Regions from separate parts of the Homo sapiens genome. Here region 2 is linked to region 1. Evidence: promoter capture Hi-C in human tissues and cell types (Jung and others, 2019). All regions are on one chromosome and are shown on one strand. Each heading gives the region's core, a stretch centred on a gene start or on the middle of the fragment in contact. The rest is flanking DNA. Distances are from core to core; before and after follow the strand shown.

Region 1 (6,449 bases), core at 2,493-4,992:
GAACTTTGCCCCCCCCCGTTCTAGCCTCCTGTCCTTCTTGCTAAAACAGAGACCCTGGGGTTCTGTGGGCTCCGCCCAAGTCTCCCTCTTTCCCGCCCTCCCCGGGGCTCCCGTCCTGTATCAGTCCCTGGGGATGCTGCAGACAGGGTCTTCGTCTCAGTGTCCTGACGGCAGCCCGCTCCCCACCAGGGACGCCAGTGAACCGCGTGCCCATCATGGCGAAGCAGGTGCTCGACCTGTACGCTCTGTTTCGCCTGGTGACCGCCAAGGGCGGCCTGGTGGAAGTCATCAACCGCAAAGTGTGGCGGGAAGTCACGCGCGGCCTCAGCCTACCCACCACCATCACCTCGGCCGCCTTCACTCTACGCACCCAGTGAGGCCAGGGGCGGGAGCGGAAGGGAAGGGGGCACGGGTTCGGCCTGGGGCGGGAGGGGGGAGGGTCCCCGGGCGGGCGTCCGGCTGTGGGACTTGACCAGCTGGGTGCAGCCTCCCATACACTCACCGCCCGCTGTCCGCCCCTAGGTACATGAAGTACCTGTACCCGTACGAGTGCGAGACTCGAGCGCTCAGCTCCCCAGGGGAGCTCCAGGCCGCCATAGACAGCAATCGGCGCGAGGGCCGTCGCCAGGCTTACACCGCTACTCCGCTCTTCGGCTTGGCAGGGCCGCCCCCTCGGGGCGCTCAGGACCCAGCCTTGGGTCCCGGCCCCGCCCCTCCGGCGACCCAGTCCAGCCCTGGCCCAGCCCAGGGTTCCACCTCCGGCCTGCCAGCGCATGCATGCGCTCAGCTGAGTCCAAGCCCTATTAAGAAAGGTGCGAGGGGAGAATGGTAGAGGTTTCGGGGTCTCTGAGGTTTAGGTGGGCGCTAAGATATAGCAACCATTAAAATGTGAGGATTGAGGTCTGGGGAGGCATTGAGGTATGGGAGCAGTAAGGTCTGACGGGCTTCTGAGGTTTGGGGGTCACTAAGGTTTAGGGGTCCTGAGGTTTGCGGCCAAATGAGAGCTCTGGGGTACGGGTTACTGAAGTGTAGGGGCTGAAGTTCAGGAAAAGGTCCTTTTTTTTCTTTTTTTCTTTTTTTTTTTTTTTTGTGAGACGGAGTCTCGTTCCGTCGCCCAGGCTGGAGTGCAGTGGCGCGATCTCAGCTCACGGCAACCTCCGCCTCCCGGGTTCAAGCGATTCTCCTGCCTCAGCCTCCCGAGTAGCTGGGACTACAGGGGCCCGCCACCATGCCCGGCTAATTTTTGTATTTTTAGTAGAGACGGGGTTTCACCGTGTTAGCCAGGATGGTCTCGATCTCCTGACCACGTGATCCGCCCTCCTCCGCTTCCCAAAGTGTTGGGATTACAGGCTGAGTCACCGCGCCCGGCCAGGAAAAGGTCCTTTAATCACAGCAACTCCATTCCACACATGTCCACCCAGTGCTCCTATTTGCATATAGTTTGTGCCTCTTGTGACCTGGATTATTTAATAACCAACAGCCAAAAACAATCCCCCAAATTGTCTAGACATGTACCTTGATCCTTTGGGCTCTAGAGAAAAGCTTCAGCGCTTCCAGGCTGAGGCTCTGGATGGGAAGATAGATCGAATGAAGGATGAGAGATTGGTACATGAGCTTGAGTTACCTCTTTTGGTCCCAGGCCTGGGGGAGAACCAATGCAGAGATGGGTTGGTTTGGCCAGGGGAGCTGAATAACCTGTTCTTCTAGAGGAGAGTGGAATTCCAAACCCTTGTCTGGCACTGCCTGTGGGCCTGGCACTGGGACCTACACGGGAGAAATTGGCACCAGAGGAGCCCCCAGAGAAGAGAGCTGTGCTGATGGGGCCTATGGACCCACCTCGACCTTGCATGCCCCCCAGTTTCCTGCCCCGTGGCAAGGTTCCCCTGAGGGGTGAGGAGGGGCTTGTTGTGAGGGGGCTTCGGGACTGTACACTGAGGGAGGATTGACCCATCACCTGATAGGTGTTAGAGACGGGGCAGACAGATTCCTCTGTAGACAACTGTGTGAGTATAGGTGTGGGGCTGAAGTGGAATGGGGGCTGTCTACGGGGATGGAGGGGGGAAATTCTATTAATAAGTCAGAAGTCTGATTCTCCAAAATGTGATTCCTCTGCCCCCTCCTGGACAGAAGAGCGGCTGGATGGGCCTCTTAATCTGGCAGGCAGTGGCATCAGCAGTATCAACATGGCCCTAGAGATCAACGGGGTGGTCTACACTGGTATGGGTACTGCAGGCTGTCTACACTGGCATGGGGTCAGGGGTATTTAGGCTGGCATGGGGATTTTAGACTTCCTCTACTAGCATGAAGTTCAGGGATATCTAAACTTGCATGAGTAACATGGAGTTCAGGGGATTGCTAGACTGGCATGGGTTAAAGGGGGTGTCTACATGGCATGGGATCCAAGGCATGACCTCTCTGGCATGAGTACCAGGGGATGTCTGCCTTGTCTTGGGCCTATGTATCAGCATAAATATTCCTTGTTTACCTGTTTGAGGTATCTACATTAGCAATGGAGTCTCTTACTGACCCAAGGAGCTTGTCCTCATTGGTTTGTGGCAGGGGTACGTGTGTAGTGTTCTAGCAACCAGAACACTTACTTTTGTTCCCCTCTTCTGTTTCCATACCCTACCCCCTCCTGCTTGTTTTTGCCCTCTACCATCTCCTCACCCCTTTGCCAGGTGTCCTCTTTGCCCGCCGCCAGCCTGTGCCAGCTTCCCAGGGTCCAACCAACCCTGCACCCCCACCCTCCACAGGGCCCCCTTCCAGCATCTTGCCCTGAGAGGTCCTACTTGAAACTAAGAGTCCCAGCCCCATTGCTGAGGGGGGAGGAGACCCCCTGCTTTGATTCTTTCTGGCTGCCCACTCTGGGACCCAGCCCTGGGAGGGGACGACACCTCCCATGCCATGTGGACTTAAAACCAAAGTTTCTTTTGATGTTACACCTACCTCATTGTAAAGGGAGGGCACCTCCTCCCTGGCCAATTCCAGCAGCACCTACCAAAGGGTTCTTCCTCCAGTAACCCCATCATCTCCTCATGTGTTCCCTCTGTCAATGTCATCTCTAGGACCCTACCCTTTTGAGTCAGCCCTGCTTCTCTTCAGGAGCCAAGTGAAAGGTTGGGTTGGGGTACTGTGAAAGAGACATCCCTCAGGTCACATCTAGACAATAAAGCTGCGGTCCCTCCCTCTCTGATGCCTCCTTTCTTGTTTGGGTATGGGAGGTGGGGAGGAATGATGTGGAACATAGGCTGCCTTGGGCCAGGGGCTTTCAGAGGTTAAGGCAGAATAGCAAAGTTTCGTGAGAATAGAAGAGCTCCGTCTCTTGAATCAGACAGCCTGAGTTCAAGTCCTGTTTCTGTCCCTATAGTGCTGGGTGGCCTTGGGCAAGTTACTTAATCAACTGAACCTTAGAAGACTCCAAAAGTTTATGGTAACTCACGGAGCCTCCTAATGATGTATCTATGGGAATGGACCTATCCTGGAACACGTGCAAACTCAGGGAATGGCGTGGGGAAAGCTCTTTGGTACCCGAAAAGCAAAGGTTATCTTGACAACCAGGCACTGGAAGCCAGGGGAGGGATGGGACAGAGCCGTTGCCAAGGTAATCAGCTTTTGACAGCTCCGAGGAGTAACTTCCGGCACTGAAGGGCTGAATCATGGCGTCACTTCCTGCATAAAGGGCCGCTCGTGCACTCGGATTGGCTAGCCTTCTTATTTGGACTGACGTCCCGCCCTCTGGCTGTTTCCTGGCCGAGGTGGGTCGGTAGTAGCGATGGCGGGTCTGACTGACTTGCAGCGGCTACAGGCCCGAGTGGAAGAGCTGGAGCGCTGGGTGTACGGGCCGGGCGGGGCGCGCGGCTCACGGAAGGTGAGTAGTCTGGTCCGGTAGTCCCTTTCTGGAGCAGAGCAAGAGCGGTCCACTGTCCTGGCCCTCGGGATGCAACCGCTCCAGTCCTGTTCTCCGCAGCCCGGCCTTTGAAATAACAAAGGTCCGGGACCTCCCAGAGCTGATTGGACCATCGGGGTCCACTGTCATAGGGGGCTCTGCGGGTGGTTAAGCCAGCCTGAGAGTGGGCTCCGTACCTACTGTAGCTGAGACTCCGCCCTTGCCCTCGCGAGCTATAGTTGGGGAGACCTGACACGAGAAGCTGACTAATGAGAGTTTCAATAAGAGCTGAAGTCCACGATAGGAAGGCCCGTCATAGAGCCCTGCATAATTAATTGCTAAATGAATTGTGCAGGAAGAGGTCCATGGGACCCCTGGGGAGGCAGAGCAGAGGTGGATAAGGAAAACGCCAAAGGGTGAGAAGTGAGGTCTGAAAGGACCAGGATTAGGAAGGGAAGAGACTGGGTACTGGGTATTCAGATGTGGACTAGCACTGCTTTATACCAGTGACAGAATTTTGACAACTACGAAGCTCAGGTGCCCTCTCCTCCCCTTTCTACTATGGGAAGATCTTTTATTGAAGAACTTCTGATGGCGTGTCAGGCATGTCCTGGAGCTAAGTGCGTCCAAGGTAATGATGTCTGTTTGTACACTAAATGAGGAATTAGTTGTCACTAGCAGACTGTGCTCCCATTTCAGAACTAACTTCTCAAACATTCTCTTCCTTTGGGATCTATGACGCTGACCCTCCTGGTTTTCCTTCTACCTCTTACGGCTGCTTCTCAGTGTTATTTGCCTCCCCCCTGGCATTCCTCATCCTCTACCCTAAAAACTGGGTGAGTGCAGTCACTTCCTTAGTCTCCTCCTCTATTTGACCCTTTAATATTGGGATTCTTTACATTCTACCCCTAAACTTTAGGTAGGCTCACTCGCTTCCATGGTGTCAATTACTATTTACATGTCAATATGTCTCAAATGTATATCTCTGGTCCAGATTTCTGTTCTGAGAACCAGACTTTTATGTCTAGTTGTCTACTGGACTTTTCCACTTGGATATCCAATAGTCATTTCAAACTCAATCTGTATGCCCTTAACTGTACTCTTTCTCTCCCCTAACCTGATTCTCTTCTGTATTCCCTAATTCAGTGATTGCACCATCATTGGGATCCCAGTTGTTTGGACTCTTCCATCTCCCACACCAAATTTGATGTGGAGGGGATAGGGCTAGAGGTAGGCCAGCCAATCTAGAGGTCATGAAGGCTTGAATGAGGATGCTTGTGTTTCTCATGCCCAAACCCAGGACTTAGGAACCAGAAAATATATTGTGTATACTCTATATTCCATAGACTCTAAAATAGTTCGTTATCTTCCCCATCAGACTTGAAACTCCCCAAGGAGTACATGATTCTCTCTCTCCACTTTAAGGATTCCTGGAAGGTGGGGCTGCATCTCCTTTAATATTAGAGAAGGGAGGCCAACCTAGATTACTGGGATTCAGGTTTGAGAGTCTGGGAGAATGAGGGTTCTTTAACTTTTCCAAGCCTTGAGCCAGGTAGTATATCTTGGAATTAACCACCACTTCCCTTACAGGTGGCTGACGGCCTGGTCAAGGTGCAGGTGGCTTTGGGGAACATTTCCAGCAAGAGGGAGAGGGTGAAGATTCTCTACAAAAAGAGTAAGTGCTTCCATGATGTGCCTGCCTGCCCGACATCCCACCCCTCAGCTTCCTGGTACCTGGCCCTAGCCCTTCAGTTCATTAGGTCACTGGAATAGCCCTTTGGGGATAGAAAGATTATGAGGACATTTACCTACACCCAATTCAATTGGTAAATTGTGGTGTGCTTTTCTACCTTGTGGCTAAACCTCAAGCCCATGACAGTGTCCTAAGTTATGAAATAAGAGCTCTACCTGAAAGCTTCTCTTGGTGAAGGAGGGTAAAAAGGGTATGGGATTTCCCAGGCAAGGTTAAGGGGCAGGAAACAAATTAGACACTGAGATCCTGGTTATGTCAGAACTAGTAACCTGCTTAGTAACTAGAAATTAGACAAAGCTCTGGCTTGTCTCGGTGACATCTAGGAGAAAAGAGGCCTTCTACCCTTGGTGAGGATAGGTCAGTGAGAATGCTAAGGGCCCAGAGTGGTGGTGGCAATTGTGTTTTCAGCTCTGAAGCTTGATGTCAGAAGAGACTTCAAGAGAAGAGAGTGGAGAGATAGGGAAGTGGGGATAGGGAGCCTGGTGGAGCCCTGCTCATGTGGCACTGTTGGGTATCAGCTCCTCATTGAAGGCTCTCCTCAAGGCTGACCACTTGTCAAACATCCTTCATAAGGCAGAGCTCTACTGCCCAACCCTATTCCATTTTCCATCTTGCTACTTTTCTAGTTGAAGATCTGATCAAGTACCTGGATCCTGAGTACATCGACCGCATTGCCATACCTGATGCCTCTAAGCTGCAATTCATCCTAGCAGGTAATGCTGGACTACATGTGTACATGCATCTGAGGATGTGGGTCGTCGGGGAGGTTAAGCACAGAGATGGCCTCTCCATCCAGTCTTCTGGTGGATA
Region 2 (6,449 bases), core at 2,921-5,420, 530 kb after region 1:
AGGTATGAACTTGTGTAGGGATCCCTGACGTGTATTCCTCTTGCTTATGTCTTGGGATATGCACTCCTTTTTCCTTCCCCATCAGTGCTTGCTACATAGCATGGTTCTGAGCCCACAGAACACCTCTTAAAGGCTGAGTGATGCTGGTGAGAAATTATAACTGAGGCTCTGAAACCCACCCCTTCAATTGGTGTCTGCAGTATTTCTCTGAGTAGTCTATATTTGTGGGTCAGCCTCACAGAATTCCCCTAGGGCCACCCTGATTTGACTGTCTGTCATTTGCACATGCCTTTGCAGGTGCTGTATTCTGGGCATGATTTTCATACTTGCTTCTGAAAACAATCACTTTTTTTCTCTTTGGTATTCATTCCTTTTTTTTTTTTTTTCTTTTTGAGACTGTGTTTTGCTCCTGTCACCTAGGCAGGAGTGCAATGGCACGATCTCAGCTCAAAGCAACCTCCACCTTCCAGGTTCAAGCAATTCTTCTGCCTCAGATTCTCAAGTAGCTGGGACTACAGGCATGCACCGCTACACATGGCTAATTTTGTATTTTTTAGTAGAGACGGGGTTTCACCATGTTGGCCAGGCTGGTCTTGAACTCCTGACCTCAGTTGATCCACTCTCCTTGGCCTCCCAAAGTTCTGGGATTACAGGCGTGAGCCACCATGCCTGGCCAGTATTCTTTACTGCCTACTTTCCCTTCACATTTCCACTAAGTCTTACCTTATTGAGTCAGATCTGATGCTGAGGTTTTAATAAAGCAGAGTGTCACCCAGGCGCAGTGACTCACGCCTGTAATCCCTGCACTTTCGGAGGCCGAGGCAGGCAGATCACAAGGTCAGGAGTTTGAGACTAGCCTGGGCCAACATGGTAAAACCCCATGTTTACTGAAAATACAAAAAAATTAGCCAGGCATGGTGGCATATGCCTGTATTCCCAGCTACTCAGGAGGCTGAGGCAGGAAAACTATAGGAGGTGGAGGTTGGCAGTGAGCCGAAATTGCGCCACAGCACTCCAGCCTGGGTGACAGAGCAAGACTCCATCTCAAAAAAAAAAAAAAAAAAAAAAAGCAGTGTCAGAATATACACCCAGAGCCAGAGAAAGGCTTCTCCAGAATCTGAATCAGGCCACAGTTTGAAGGGTAGTTCCCTCAACCTCCTATCCCATCTGTATTTATGGCCTAAGGGTAGATTAATCTCTCCTAAATTAGAGTCTTCACTTATAGAAATTCTCACACTAGATTATGAAACTGTCCTTCACATATGTGCCCTGCTTTAACTCTCCAACAGGACGTTGAGGGAGTGATAGCATAGTGAGGAGTTTTTCAACCATGGGTGCCTGTGTTATTGCTGGCAGCCTCAATTTAATATGCCATTCAGCTAGGTTCTGTAGGGTGAAGTAATGGTCTAATAATTACTGGCACCTCTGCTGGAATCATCACGAGACAGGAATAAAGGACCCTGACCTTAGAATCCTCGCCTGCTTATTATCGTACATTAGTTGCTATAGATGATAATATAACCTGGTTTTCATTGCTCTTGTAGGAACTGGGAGCAGTGTCTCTGGATGGCTACTTTCATCTCTGGAAGGCTGAAAATACACTATCTAAGGTGTGATGAACATGATTTTGTGGTTTTACCTAATAATTCACCTTACAGTTAAAATACTGTAATTCTAGCTGAGCTTTTTTTTCATGTTTATTTTATCTATTCATTTATTTTTGAGGCAGAGTCTCGCTCTGATGCCCAGGCTGGAGTGCAGTGGTGCAATCTTGGCTCACTGCAACCTCTGCCTCCTGGGTTCAACCAGTTCTTGTGCCTCAGCCACCTGAGTAGCTGCGGGGATTACAGGCGTCTGCCAACATGCCCAGGTATTTTTTTTGTATTTTTAGTAGGAACACAGTCTCACCATGTTGGCCAGGTTGGTATTTTTATTTTTAAAGACAATAAATACAGGGTCTCACTCTGTCACCCAAGTTGGAGTGCAGTCATGGCTCATGGATCAGTGCAGCCTTGAACTCCTGGGCATAAGCGATCCTCTTGCCTCAGCCTCCCAAGTAGCTGAGACTATGGGCATGTGTCACCACACCCATCTGGTTGTTTTTTTTGTTTTGTTTTGTTTTTTTAATTTTTTGTAGAGACAGAGTCTCACTATGTTTCCCAGGCTGGTTTTGAACTCCTGACCTCAAGCGATCCTCCCACCTTGGTCTCCCGAAGTGCTGGGCATTCAGGCATGAACCATTGCACCTGGTCTCAATTCTTGTTTAAAAGACCAGTTCTCCAAAGGCCTGGGCATGTTTTTGCACAGTACATGAAATTTTGAGTCTGGTGTGCCTCTCTTGCAGGAAAGTCTTTTAAAGAGTAAGACAGGGTGATTCTTTCCTATTGCATAAGCTTCCTGAGAGGCTCCTTTGACTAGCAGTCCTCCTCAACAATGCATTTAAGTATTTCTTTATAGATTGATGACTACTTGGCATGCTGTAAGGGAAGGAAATCCTGAGTGTTAGGAACCTTTGGCAATTGAAGATCGATCAAATTAAGATAAACCATCTCTGAAATAATCATGTAAGGTAATGAGAAAATAGACTTAATTTACAATACAAATTGGTCATCCCTAATCCAGAATGCTCCAAAATCCAGTTGGGCACAATACCTTAGGCCTGTAATCCCAACACTTTGGGAGGTTGAAGCAGGAGGATTGCTTGAGCCCAGGAGTTCAAAACTAGCCTGGGCAACACAGTAAGACCCTATCTCTGCAACAAAATTTAAAAATTAGCCATACATTGTGGCATATGCCTGTAGTCCCAGCTACTGGAGGGTAGCAGTGCTGAGGCAGGAGGACCACTTGAGCTGAGGAGGTCAAGGCTGCAGTGAGCCGTAATTTTGCCACTGCACTCCAGCCTGGGTGACAGAGCGAGACCCTATCTCAAAAAAAAAAAAAAAAAAAAAAAAAAGGCCTGGCGCGGTGGTTCACGCCTATAATCCCAGCACTTTGGGAGGCCGAGGCAGGTGGATCATGAGGTCAAGAGATTGAGACCATGCTGGCCAACATGGCGAAACCCCGTCTCTACTAAAAATACAAAAATTAGCTGGGCGTGGTGGTGGGCGTCTGTAGTCCCAGATACTTGGGAGGCTGAGGCAGGAGAATCGCTTGAACCCAGGAGGCAGAGGTTGCAGTGAGCCGAGATCATGCCACTGCACTCCAGCCTGGCAACAGAGCAAGACTCTCTCTCAAAAAAAAAAGCCTCCAAAGTCCAAAACTTTTTGAGCACCAACACAATGCCACAAATGGAAAATTTCACATGGGACACCTTTGCTTTCTGACAGGTCAGTGTACCAAACATTGTTTAATGCAGAAAATTATTTAAAATATTGCATAAAATTACCTTCACTCTATGTGTATAAGATGTATATGAAACATAAATGAATTTTGTGGTTAGACTTGGGTGCCATCCCCAAGATAGCTCCTTACATATATGTAGATATTTAAAAATCGGGGCCGGGTGCGGTGGCTCACGCCTATAATCCCAGCACTTTGGGAGGCCAAGGTGGGCGGATCGCAAGGTCAGGAGATTGAGACCATCCTGGCTAACATGGTGAAACCCCGTCTCTACTAAAAATACAAAAAATTAGCCGGGCGTGGTGGTGGGCGCTTGTAGTCCCAGCTACCCGGGAAGCTGAGGCAGGAGAATGGTGTGAACCCAGGAGGTGGAGCTTGCAGTGAGCTGAGATCGCGCCACTGTACTCCAGCCTGGGCGACAGTGCGAGACTCCGTCTCAAAAAAAAAAAAAAAAAGCTGGAGAAATCCGAAATTCAAAACATTTGTAGTCACAAGCCTTTTGGATAAGGGAGATTCAACAAGCAACTTTTACATAGAGTTAAACCTACCTGTGAATCATTTGTCTTTTTTTTATTTTTTTTGAGACAGAGTCTCACTTTGTTGCCCAGGCTAGAATGCAGTGGCACGATCTCAGCTCACTGCAACCTCCGCCTCCCAGGTTCAAGTGATTCTCCTTCCTCAGCCTCCTGAGTAGCTGGGATTACAGGCATGCACCACTACCCCTAGCTAATTTTTGGTATTTTTAGTAGAGATGGCATCTCACCAGGTTGGCCAGCCTGGTCTCAAACTCCTGACCTCAGGTGATCTGCCTGCCTTAGCCTCCCAAAGTGCTGGGATTACAGACGTTAGCCACCACGCCCAGCTTTTTCTCTTCTTCTTATCCTTGAGGACTTTGCAAGAGGAAGCAGGGTTCCAGGAATTAGTGATTCCTTCATGTCACAATAGCCTTTGAGCTCCACTGACCTTGTATGCTGTCTTATGTGTTGTATGCACCCACTGAGGATTTGCTAACTGACGAAGACCCAGGGTTAAGGCTGATGTGGGTTATCTGGGATTAAGCTAGTCCCATGGGCGTGCTTTCTATAGCGTACAATTCCCATTCAGGTGGGAAGGTGAGCTGGGGGTAGCCAGAGATCAGCCTCTTTATCTGAAAAGCACTGAGGTGGCCCTTCCTGGCAGACAGAACAGAGTGGGACTATGGCTTTAGTGCCCTGGAACGATTCCCAGAAACAACCTGAATAGTTGAAACAGCCTACCAAGAAAGGCCTTGGCCTTTCCAGCTACTTCTGATTATTTATTCCAGATTTACCTTTTCCCCAACCTATCTCCTTCAGTATCTAGGTCTTACCGTTTATTAACATTCACCTCCTCTTTCTCCTGTATACCTAGGGGTGGAACAGAGTGTTATTTCTGTAATCAGGGCTTGATTTTATGTGGCTTTTATATGAGGGAAGCCCATCAAGGTGGGAGTCCAGAAACAATATCCCTGCCTTACCCTCTCTGCTGATGCCATGGTTATATCTCTCCTCTATTTTCAGCTCCTCTCCACCAAACTGCCATATTGCCGTGAGAATGTGTGTCTGGCTTATGGTAGTGAATGGTCAGTTTATGCAGTGGGCTCCCAAGCTCATGTCTCCTTCTTGGATCCACGGCAGCCATCATACAACGTCAAGTCTGTCTGTTCCAGGGAGCGAGGCAGTGGTAAGAGTCCCTGTGTGCACCTCAGGCCTACAGCTGCACTGCATATGGGTTCTGACTTTCAGTTTCTTTGTTGGTTTCCAAACAGGTATAGTGCTCTGTATGGAACATTTGGAAGTGTGTTCAAAAAGGGGAGCGATGGCTAGGCGTGGTGGCTTACGCCTGTAATCCCAGCACTTTGGGAGGCCGAGGCGGGTGGATCACCTGAGGTCGGGAGTTTGAGATCAGCCTGACCAATAAATATGGAGAAACCCCGTCTCTACTAAAAATACAAAATTAGCCGGGCGCAGTGGCGCATGCCTGTAATCCCAGCTGCTCAGGAGGCTGAGGCAGGAGAATTGCTTGAACCTGGGAGGCGGAGGTTGCGGTGAGCTGAGATCGCACCATTGCACTCCAGCCTGGGCAATGAGCGCGAAATTCTGTCTCAAAAAAAAAGGGGTGTGGGGGGAGTGACACAAAAGGGCACTAGACTTTCAAACACCACAGACAAATGTGTGGCCACAGAAGCCTTTGTTGGGAGCCACCAGTCAGGATATTAGTTAGTAGTTTCCATGTTCTTTTAGAAAGCTCTACTTTTTTTTTGTTGTTGTTGTTTTTTTTTTTTGAGACAGAGTCTCGCTCTTTTGCCAGGCTGGAGTGTAGTGGCGTGATCTCAGCTCACTGCAACCTCTGCCTTCTGAGTTCAAGTGATTCTCCTGCCTCAGCCTCGCGAGTAGGTGGGACTACAGGCACACACCACCACGCCCAGCTAATTTTTGTATTTTTAGTAGAGACGGGGTTTCACCATGTTGGCCAGGATGGCCTTGATCTCTTGACCTTGTGATCCACCCACCTCGGCCTTCCAAAGTGCTGAGATTACAGGCGTGAGCCACTGCACCTGGCCGAGAGCCCTACTTTCTATCCTGTGGTAATTTTTTTGCTGTGGTCCTGCCTGAACTAAAATTCTATTTATGCTAAGATGTGGCATGGTGGGATAAGGAGGAAGTTTACAAAGGGCATGAGGAAACCTCAGGGTAATGAGTATGTTCATTATGTAGATTGTGGTTATGATGTCATGGATATATACATATGTCAGAACCTCAAATTGTATACTTTATGTGTCGTATATTGTATGACAAACCTCAATAAGGCTGAAGAAAATACTGAGTTTAGTTCTGACCACTGAGTAAATTAAGCTTCCACCTCAAATCTTTTATAACATATTCTCTGTAAGAGCACCCTCATTCTTTATTGAAGAGGGAAAAAATACTTATTTTAGTGTACTTTGAAGGTTTCAAAATACCTTTTTCTGACATGCCATTTCATCATACCAAGAACCCTGTGGGAAGCAGATGAGAAAACATAGTTTTACATATAAGACCTAGAGCCAGCTAAATAACTTGCCCAGCATCACACAGCTTGATGGGGGAACA

The links. Contacts are between HindIII fragments. The study calls those that stand out against the background at their distance.
Region 2: a contact is called between a fragment that was not itself captured here and the fragment with the promoter of DCTN3 in region 1, in 3 of the 25 tissues and cell types used here (dorsolateral prefrontal cortex, lymphoblastoid cells and spleen).

What each region holds. Positions count from the first base shown.
Region 1 is chr9:34,617,788-34,624,236 of GRCh38, reverse strand. DCTN3 (dynactin subunit 3) reads left to right here and starts at 3,742. Exons shown (of 7, transcript NM_007234.5): 1 at 3,742-3,868; 2 at 5,477-5,561; 3 at 6,266-6,352. The coding sequence starts at 3,773. ARID3C (AT-rich interaction domain 3C) reads left to right here. Exons shown (of 8, transcript NM_001017363.4): 4 at 190-373; 5 at 523-812; 6 at 1,708-1,890; 7 at 2,128-2,217; 8 at 2,679-3,188. The coding sequence ends at 2,779. RefSeq lists an enhancer at 1-43. The HindIII fragment of the contact is 3,867 bases long and covers 3,673-6,449 here.
Region 2 is chr9:34,091,877-34,098,325 of GRCh38, reverse strand. DCAF12 (DDB1 and CUL4 associated factor 12) reads left to right here. Exons shown (of 9, transcript NM_015397.4): 5 at 1-2; 6 at 1,545-1,610; 7 at 4,878-5,040. Among named protein-coding and RNA genes, the nearest start is that of DCAF12, 32 kb to the left of the region's middle. The HindIII fragment of the contact is 6,258 bases long and covers 1,042-6,449 here.